3 separate regions of the Homo sapiens genome follow, and all the other regions are linked to region 1. Evidence: promoter capture Hi-C in 16 types of primary human blood cells and fetal thymus (Javierre and others, 2016). All regions are on one chromosome and are shown on one strand. The core of a region is centred on a gene start or on the middle of the fragment in contact, and the rest is flanking DNA. Distances in the headings are between cores, read along the strand shown. Region 1 holds the start of C1orf198 (chromosome 1 open reading frame 198). Region 2 overlaps GNPAT (glyceronephosphate O-acyltransferase). Region 3 overlaps TRIM67 (tripartite motif containing 67).

Region 1 (2,909 bases), core at 108-2,607:
CAATGTATTGAGCTTCTCTAGCATCAACTCAAACAGAAGATCATACTCCAAAAAACTGTCCTTAAACTTCCGGTCTCATAAATAATCCGCCACTTACTGTGGAGACTATATTTGGTGGTGCTTGCCTTTCCCTGCTTCAATATATTATGTTGTGAACATTGTTGATAATAATGTCTTTAACTGTAGAGCCTGCCACATTCATGACATTCCAAAAATATTCTGAGGATTTCTGGGCCGGAAGATGAGGCCATCTCACATTTAAAATAGGACTTTGCAAGTTATTTCTACTTTTGTGTTCAGAACTATCCAGGCAAAGACCCTGGATAACAGCTGAAATGCTGGTTTTTGTTTTTGTTTTTTTATTTTACGAGTGGACACAATTCTCACCTGAGTCCTGTTAGTCTTGTTAAAATCAGTCAGATGGAGAGAGGGGCTTGGGGGAAGTGGGGGCTCGCTATAATTTTAATTTTGTGGTCTGTCTGGGACACACCTCAAAATTACAAACCCTGGCCCCCTACCTGTTGGGATGTCGCCTCTGAGTCTGAAAACTTTCTGCTCCTCTTTGGTTTGTTTGCAAACGTCGAACTGCCAAGAGTTCTGAGCTCCTTGGGTTGGGGAAAGGCACCTGGGCCACCGGGTACTTCATGCACCCACCTGGCCCCGAGGGGCGGCGGGAGCTGACTTTCCTTGAGCACCAGATGCCCCGAACCGGTCCAGCCTTCCAGGTCGCCCTCCAGCCTCCGGGCTGCCCTGCGCCCCCGGCTATCTGCAGCTCACCGCGCCAGGCCCCGGGCCCAGCGTCCTGGACGGGCCCAGAGAAAGCAGAGAAGGTGTGGCTCGTCCCAGAAAGGGACAGAAGGAAAGGAGTAAAAACAGAAGCCAGGCAGCCAGCGGCTTGGCCTGAAATGCTGGGGCTTTCTTAGGCTCACTGGAGGTTGAAAAAAGTTTCCTTTGTCAAGCAGTGGCCACGTGGCGCTATGGCGGTCACTACCGGGAATTAACCACGGCCACCCTCTCAGAGCGCCGGGCGCGGACTCAGGGACACGCCGGCTACCACCTGAGCCGGGTAAGGGGAGCCCGAAACCTGCGGGCACCGCGGTAATCCACTATGGAGGCGTAAAGGGGGACTCGTGGGGTCCGCGAGGGGGTGGCGGGGGGGGGCCCGGAGGGAGGAGCTCCCGGGGAGGGGGCCACGGAGGGCCGGGGTCCCGGGGCTTGGGGAGCTGGGTTGGCTTGGAGACCCGGGTACGCGGCGGTGCAGGGCGGGGTTCCCGGAGGGGGCGGGGCTCCGGGTGGCGCGGGGCGGGGCGAGGGCGGGCACAGCGAGGGGCGGGGCGCGGGCCGGGAGCGGCGGGCAGGCCGGGCATGGCGTCCATGGCGGCGGCGATCGCGGCTTCGCGCTCGGCGGTCATGAGCGGGAACCGGCCTCTGGACGACCGGGAGCGAAAGCGCTTCACTTACTTCTCGTCGCTGAGCCCCATGGCCAGGAAGATCATGCAGGACAAGGAGAAGATCCGCGAGAAGTACGGGCCCGAGTGGGCGCGGCTGCCGCCCGCGCAGCAGGACGAGATCATCGACCGGTGCCTGGTGGGGCCGCGCGCCCCGGCGCCCCGAGACCCCGGGGACTCGGAGGAGCTCACGCGCTTCCCCGGCTTGCGCGGGCCCACGGGCCAGAAGGTGGTGCGCTTCGGGGACGAGGTAGGTGCGGGCCTGGCCGCGGACCCTCTTCCCCTCCCGGCGCCCCGAGGCGCCCCGGCCCGGTGGGCACCTGCCGGCGTGAGGCCGCCCCAGCTGGTAGGGGCTGGAAAAGAAAAGGCAGGAATGGCAGTGGGTGGGAGGGGAGCCCCAGAGCCGAAGTTCGGGGGGTGGGGGCTCCGCTGGGGGAGTTGGTTAAGAGATCGCCGAGAGGTGGGTCGTTAAAGAACCTCCATCTAGACCTGATCCGCCGGCTCGCACGGACTCCAGAGACTTCTCCCGGAGCTGTCGTAAGCGAGGCTGACCAAAGTGGAAACAACAAGCAATTTTAAACCAGACAAGCCTGGGTTTTAATCCAGCTCTGCTACTTACTACCTGTATGGCGGTGGGTCAATTAACTTCTTAGAGCCTCAGTTTCCACTGTGTAAAACGGGGGTAATAACGCCACCCCGTGCCTGCCCGTGAAGGGACTGAGCAAATGATATATACTAACATGAATACTTGTGATGAGATGTATGGGGAAAGTAAAATTGCCAAGCCAGGTAACAAGGAAGAAAAGGTGTCTTCCAAGATAAGGAGGGAAACCCATCCATCACCCTAAGATGTTTTCCAAGTGAGCACAATGCCCAGCGTATGTTTTAAGGGTGAGCATGGTGGCCCTGTTTTCCACCAAAAAACTAAGGGACGATAAGTTTAAATGAGCTCCAGTAAGTCTTGGCCACATAACAGGGCATGTTTAGGTCTCAGATCTAGACACTGTCCAGACTGCTAGAGGGACAGTCATTTGTGAAGGTAGAAACGCTGAATCTGTTCCAGAAAAAGCTCAGGGATGACCCACACTTAGTCACAAACGCCTGAATCTTCTGTAGGGTTCAGAAACTTGGTCTTCTTTTTCTTAGAAATGTGTTTAACCGAAGCCTGTTTGGTGCCATTAGAATTTGCACTGTGACTCTTTGGCGTTTCAAACTCAACTTTTGCCGTGAGGAGCAAAGTCAAGCTGAGCAAAGAGTGTAGGAATGAAATCGCTCGCTGTTAAGGCTGTTTCTTGGGCTAGAGGAAGGAGAAGCTGGGAGAGATTTTTTCCGAGGAAGTTGTGGATTGTGGATGGAATTCAAGTTAAGGAGGTTTAGATCAGATTTTCAGGCTTGGGTGTGCTGAGACATTTATTAATACGAAGTGTTCATGGTCATAAACCCACTTTAATGTGAGGGAAA
Region 2 (2,909 bases), core at 258-2,757, 410 kb before region 1:
TTCCTATTGGTGTCTTACAACCTAAGATGAAAAAAGAGAAGCAGCTCATGAAATGATGCTGATTTTGCCCTTCCTCATACAGCTGTTCCTTGGGCGACTGTCCAGGGGAGAAGCTGGAGACTTGTGCAGAGCTTCACAGGCTGGCCAGTACCCATGGGGACGCCAGCCCCCTCCACAAGGGAAGCGGTAGATGCTCCAAGAGGTGACAGCATGGCCAGAGCCACAGGGCCAGGGCCAGGAGTTGAACCCCGTCATGTTTTCTGAACTCCAGTCCAGTATGTTCACGCTCACATCACATCTGCTTTCCGTGATTAAGTAATTGATTCCGTCACCCTCACAGGGCGAGGTGTTTGTGGTTGTTTTAGGTATATGCACCTCTTCAGACACGATATAAATAGAAGACTGGGATTTCGACCTACATATTTTTTTCTACAAGGTCTAGTACTTCCGCCTTCCCGATATGCAACAACTACCCCACTGCCCTTCTACCCTTTTCTTCATCCATTCTCCTTTTCCGTATGCCCCATTCTGGTCTTCCGCAAATCCCAACAGACATTTATCTAAAGCTCTTCCATGCAGGTTTGACGAGGTACTGAATTAAGATTAGGTACAAAAACAGTACTTGGAAGACGATCCACTCAAGGACATCACGCCATTCAATATAATCAGCAGATTATTTTTTCCAAATGTTAACACCCTCCTTTCTAAAATGGCCGCATCATTGCTAGGAAAAGTGTTCTTGACCCCCTCTGATTGTACCTCTGTTTATGTCAACACTCAAGGACTCTTATGTCAAGGAAGACAACACTCAAGGACTCTTTTTGGACTAGACTATTTCTTCATAGCTGATAGGCTCTAGAGAAGAGTAAGGGTTGGATTATTCTCCCAAGGATGTGCTATCAGCCCTAATTCTGAGTTCAGAAAGTCTACATGATAGAGACACTGACACTAATCTCTCACTTGGGAAAGAAGCAATGCAAGACAGACAGTGAGAGCATCAAACAAAGAGTGGAGATGAGGTACTCTCTCTGAGGCAAGGATGTGAAGGGTCTGGGCCTCTGGCTGAGACCAGTCATGTTAGGGACTGACTCTTTCTACTGTGTAAGACTGCTTCTTTTATGCCTGCTGTGTTTTGTTAATTTTCTTTGTGCTTTCTCGTTAGCTTCCTTGAGAAAATTCCAGACTGCATAAGTAATTCCCTTTTATGTTAGAACTCTACTACTTACTGATCATTTTGATAAAGTATTTGGTGCCACAGTATACTTTCTTATTTTAATTCATCAACAAAATGTGAAAACTTGTATTTTATTAAACTGCACTTACCAAGCATTTCTTCTAATTTGGTTGTGGCAGGTTCATTCACATTAAATATACAGTTATTATTTCTAGGAGAAAATAATAAGCTTTATTATTACATAAACTCTGGGGAAAAGACAACTTTTATATTTTGTTCCTGACGTAGCTATTGTAAGACTACTTTTCAATTGCCTTCCTCAAGGCTGGGCCTAAGTAGTCGAAAGGCCTCAGGCTCCTGTCCCACCTCCTGGCTTCTTGCTTCATTCTTCTGACCACATAAGAGACATGACTGCCAGAGTTTACTATTAAGCTTTATCACTGTTAAATTCAACCACTTAGAAGAACATACATCTATATGTTTATATATACATATACAGGTATGTATCTATATATGTATTATGTGTGTATTTATGTGTGTCTACACTCATATGCCCACTACACTCCCGAAAATCTTTCTTGTAATTATAAATTTCAACATTAAGTCAAAGCAAAAATATTGGCCTAAAGTTATTTCTTCCTTTCTTTGCTTCAGTTGCATTTCTATTCATAACCACATACAATTTTCAGGATAACTCACACTGACTTAACTAATTAGAGGATGGATAAGGAAAGTAGAATATAGCATTTCCTAGATCATCCATTTCTATGTCTCTCTGGATTTTGAGCTCAAATGTCATTCATTTCCTTGTTCCTTGAGCACTCATGGGATCTTGTACAGTACTTACATCTTCTTCTTCTCCACTACTCCGAGCCTCACACAGGCTGCTAAGGCGTTTTTCTGCACATCAGAAGATAATACATCATAACATTGAGAGGTACCTAAAATTGGGGGTGAGGAAGAGTTAGTTGACCAGTTTCTATTCTCAACTAAAAGAAATCAGCACCCACAGAGCAGTGACTGACCTTGATCGAGAAGCTGACTTGTGAATTTTCTGACTGCAGCCAAGTACTGTTCCTCACTGAAGTGGTCCTCTTCTTCACTCAAAAGGTACTTGCAAATTATCTGATTTTAAGAGGAAGGATGAGGGGAACAGAAAGAGAAAAAGGATAGCCAAGTTCAACAGAATAGTAAATAACTTTACATTGCCCCTCTTAAGAGAAGGATATATCACAAGAGAGCAGCATAAAGACCCTCCAAGGAATGAGCCCAGAAAAACCAAAGAATTTTTAGGGCATCTCCTTTGAGTTTACATTTTACAATTAGAAAAAGATTTAAAATAATAATGACATTTATTAAAGTATAATTTCTCACTTCAAGGGGTACAAGTTAATTACCATCAGCTTCGTATCTCTTATGCTACTTGGGAAGAGAGGGGTCAGATTTTAATAACTTTGCTTTTTTTCTCTAAATACACCTAAGAAAGTACCATGCCCTAAAATACTTGATGATTTCTACTGTAGAACAGTGATTAAGGGTAGAACTAGCATTTATCAAATGCTCAGTAAGTGCTAGACTTTGTGCAAGGAGGCTGAATGAGTTATTTCACGGACCACAAGCACCAGGAAGTGGGTCCAGGTGCCCAGAGCCAGTGCATGTATTATATGAACAGAGCCGAGTCACAGCATCCTCTTCTCTCAAGCATGTGGAAGTCCTTCCTACAGTTTATGTTTCA
Region 3 (2,909 bases), core at 302-2,801, 330 kb before region 1:
CCCACTAAAAATACAAAATTAGCTGGGTGTAGGGGCACATGCCTGTAATCCCAGCTACTCAGGGGGCTGAGGCAGGAGAATTGCTTGAACCTGGGAGGCGGAGGTTGCGGTGAGCTGAGATCGTGCCATTGCACTATAGCCTGGGCGACAGAGTGAGACTCTGTCTCAAAAAAAAAAGAATTCAGTCCCTCTTATTCCTCCAGATATGTTAATGCTTTCTCATCTTATGAGCAGTTCCTCTATGTGTGCACATTCACACAGGAGCACCTGTGTGTGCACGTTCTCCCCTATAGACAGACCCTGAGGCACACATGGTGCCTCATTGATCTTTGTATCTTGTGCTGGGCTCAGTACATGACACAGCATAAGAGTTCAGTAAACACATTTGTTTAGAAAATGATGCATTTATATTTTGATGCATTGATGACATGGGCATATTCGGCCACAAAAGCACCATATACAGATGCCACAAAGGACGACGACATGGCACGTAGAGTGCTAGATCACATCTTTCCAGCTCTCTCTAATTGGCTCCATGTAAAAGTCCTTTCCTGTATCAGGTGTCACTTGTGTGCCAATGAGTTGAATATGTGACACTTTCAGCACCCAAGGCTATAGGGTAGGACACATAAACCTTCTAATGTCCATCACTGAGAAAATGCTTGCTACAAGACTTTTCCTTTCTTCTTCTCCTTCTTCTCCTTCTCCTTCTCCTTCTCCTTCTTCTTCTTCTTCTTCTTTTCTTTGAGACAGACTTTCTCTCTTGTTGCCCAAGCCAGAGTGCAATGGCACAATCTCGGCTCACTGCAACCTCCGCCTCCCAGGTTCAAGTGATTCTCCTGCCTCAGACTCCAGAGTAGCTGGGATTACAGGCATGCGCCACCACGCCCGGCTAATTTTTGTATTTTTAGTAGAGACGGGTTTCTCCATGTTGGTAAGGCTGGTCTCAAACTCCCAATCTCAGGTGATCTGCCCGCCTCGGCCTCCCAAAGTGTTGGGATTACAGGTGTGAGCCACCGTGCCCCGCCTCTTTCTTCTTAATACGATGCACAACGTGCAAACTTTCAACACTGAGTATTTCTCCCGACGCCAGAGCTGTGCTCACCTGGATCTGCTGCAATATGTTCTTTAGCTGAACCAGAAACTCCTTTGCTTCCTTTGCCTTATCTGAAACTCCATTTAAGGCCTGAGATAGTTGTGCCTGAAAAAGATATCACATGTTGAAAAGAAAAATTAGTTGTGAAAGGCACAGAAAATTTGCACTTCATCATAAAAGCTTATGTTTATAAGAGGGGATAGGACTGATCCCACGCATCTGCTGTTCTCATTGATGAAGGGACCACCACTGACCCATGATCTCTACAACATTTGTTTATTTTTCCAACAGTGGTAGATTGGCCTGCACTCTCCTTTCTCATCCCCAAAGCTGGATAGAGGTAAGGAGCACTCAGCTAACGGGTTGAAGCAAACAGGTCTGCCCCTGATGTTTGTAGAGCCCAAGACAAGAAGATAAATAGAGTCCTTGGCTTGGCCTGGCCCCCTCTATCCATAATCAGTACATGCCTGTATGGACATTCCAGACCCCAGGTCAGGTTCCGTCCACCCCATCCCTACACAGTCATCTCCTGGCCTGGGGTGCAAACCCTGGGGCCTGGTATGCCCTGAGGGATGGACAGGAAGGGGGCTGTGGGTCCTGGAACTGGACTAGGTGTATGGACTGGTAATCCTAGGGCATCCTCTAAAGGGGCATACAGGCTCCTAGCCTGGTACCCTTAGCCCTGGGGACTCCTCACCCTGCAGAGAGGGGTGTGACCAGCAGAAGCTTCTGAAGCATGAGGATCAGTTGCTGTGGCCCAAGGGTGAAATTGCAAGCTGAGCTCAAATCTATGGCTTTTGGCACCAGGCTTTTTTGTAACGAACCACATACACACACAATTGAATTTGTCTTTAAAACCTAGCTATTGAGTAGACTGTGACCTTGATTTTTTTTTTTTTTGAGACAGGGTCTCACTGTGTTGCCCAGGCTAGAGTGCAGTGGCTCAATCATGACTCACTGCAGCCTCAACCTCTCAGGCTCAAGTGATCCTCCCAAATCAGCCTCCAGCTAATTTTTGCATTTTTTAGTAGAGATGGTGTCTCGGAGGCTGTGTTGCTCAGGCTGATCTCAAACTCCTGGTCTCAAGTGATCCTTCCACCTTGGCCTCCCAAATTGCTGGGATTACAGGTGTGAGCCATCACGCCCATCCAGACTGTGACCCTGATTTTTACATGACTCTCATTTTCCACATTAAAAAGCTGAGGATAGAACAAAGCAGAGTCAGAAGGGCCAGGGTCTCCTTCTCCCCCAAGTCCCCTCCCAGGTCTCTGCTCAGACGTCACTGTGTCAGTGAGGACTTTCCTCACGACCTTGTGCAATATCCCCCTCGCCTTCCCCTGGCTTATTCTTCCTCCTAACAGTCGTCACCACCCAACCTAGAAAACTTGTTTGCTGTCCATCTCCATGTCCTAGAATGAAGGACAAGGGCTTTGCTGGGTGGCTCACAGCTTATCCCGGCACTGGAAGAGTACCCGGCACATGGTGGCATTCAATAAATATTTGTTGAATGCATGAATCAGTGAATGGGATTCTTTAGACCACACCAACGGTTGTCAAAGTGTGGTTCTAGACCAGCAACATCAGCATCACTGGGCGATTTGTTGAAGTGCACCGTCTCTGGCTGCACCCCAGATCTGCTGATCAGAGGTCGTGGGTGAAGCCCTGGAGTCTGCGGTTTACCAAGCCCTCCAGGGGGTTCTGATGCAGTTTGAGATCCCCTGGACTGTGCAAGTGCAGCCTCCACTGAAAACCTATGGAGAAGATGGCAAAGGAAGCCCACAAAAAGACACAGGGAGTAGGTGGAAATACAAGG

The links. The method cuts DNA at HindIII sites, captures the fragments that hold promoters and counts their contacts. A CHiCAGO score of 5 or more calls a contact.
Region 2: a contact is called between a fragment that was not itself captured here and the fragment with the promoter of C1orf198 in region 1, in 1 of 17 cell types (total B cells). The highest score is 5.4, in total B cells.
Region 3: a contact is called between a fragment that was not itself captured here and the fragment with the promoter of C1orf198 in region 1, in 3 of 17 cell types (erythroblasts, fetal thymus and naive CD8 T cells). The highest score is 6.8, in erythroblasts.

The regions. Positions count from the first base shown.
Region 1 is chr1:230,866,969-230,869,877 of GRCh38, reverse strand. C1orf198 (chromosome 1 open reading frame 198) reads left to right here and starts at 1,357. Exons shown (of 4, transcript NM_032800.3): 1 at 1,357-1,698. The coding sequence starts at 1,366. RefSeq lists an enhancer at 794-1,385 and a silencer at 1,209-1,428. The HindIII fragment of the contact is 18,150 bases long and covers 1-2,909 here.
Region 2 is chr1:231,274,611-231,277,519 of GRCh38, reverse strand. It overlaps GNPAT (glyceronephosphate O-acyltransferase), which reads right to left. Exons shown (of 16, transcript NM_014236.4): 13 at 2,200-2,299; 14 at 2,022-2,115; 15 at 1,324-1,385; 16 at 1-21. Among named protein-coding and RNA genes, the nearest start is that of GNPAT, 35 kb to the right of the region's middle. The HindIII fragment of the contact is 203 bases long and covers 1,406-1,608 here.
Region 3 is chr1:231,195,663-231,198,571 of GRCh38, reverse strand. It overlaps TRIM67 (tripartite motif containing 67), which reads right to left. Exons shown (of 10, transcript NM_001004342.5): 2 at 1,106-1,201. Among named protein-coding and RNA genes, the nearest start is that of TRIM67-AS1, 9.5 kb to the right of the region's middle. The HindIII fragment of the contact is 546 bases long and covers 1,279-1,824 here.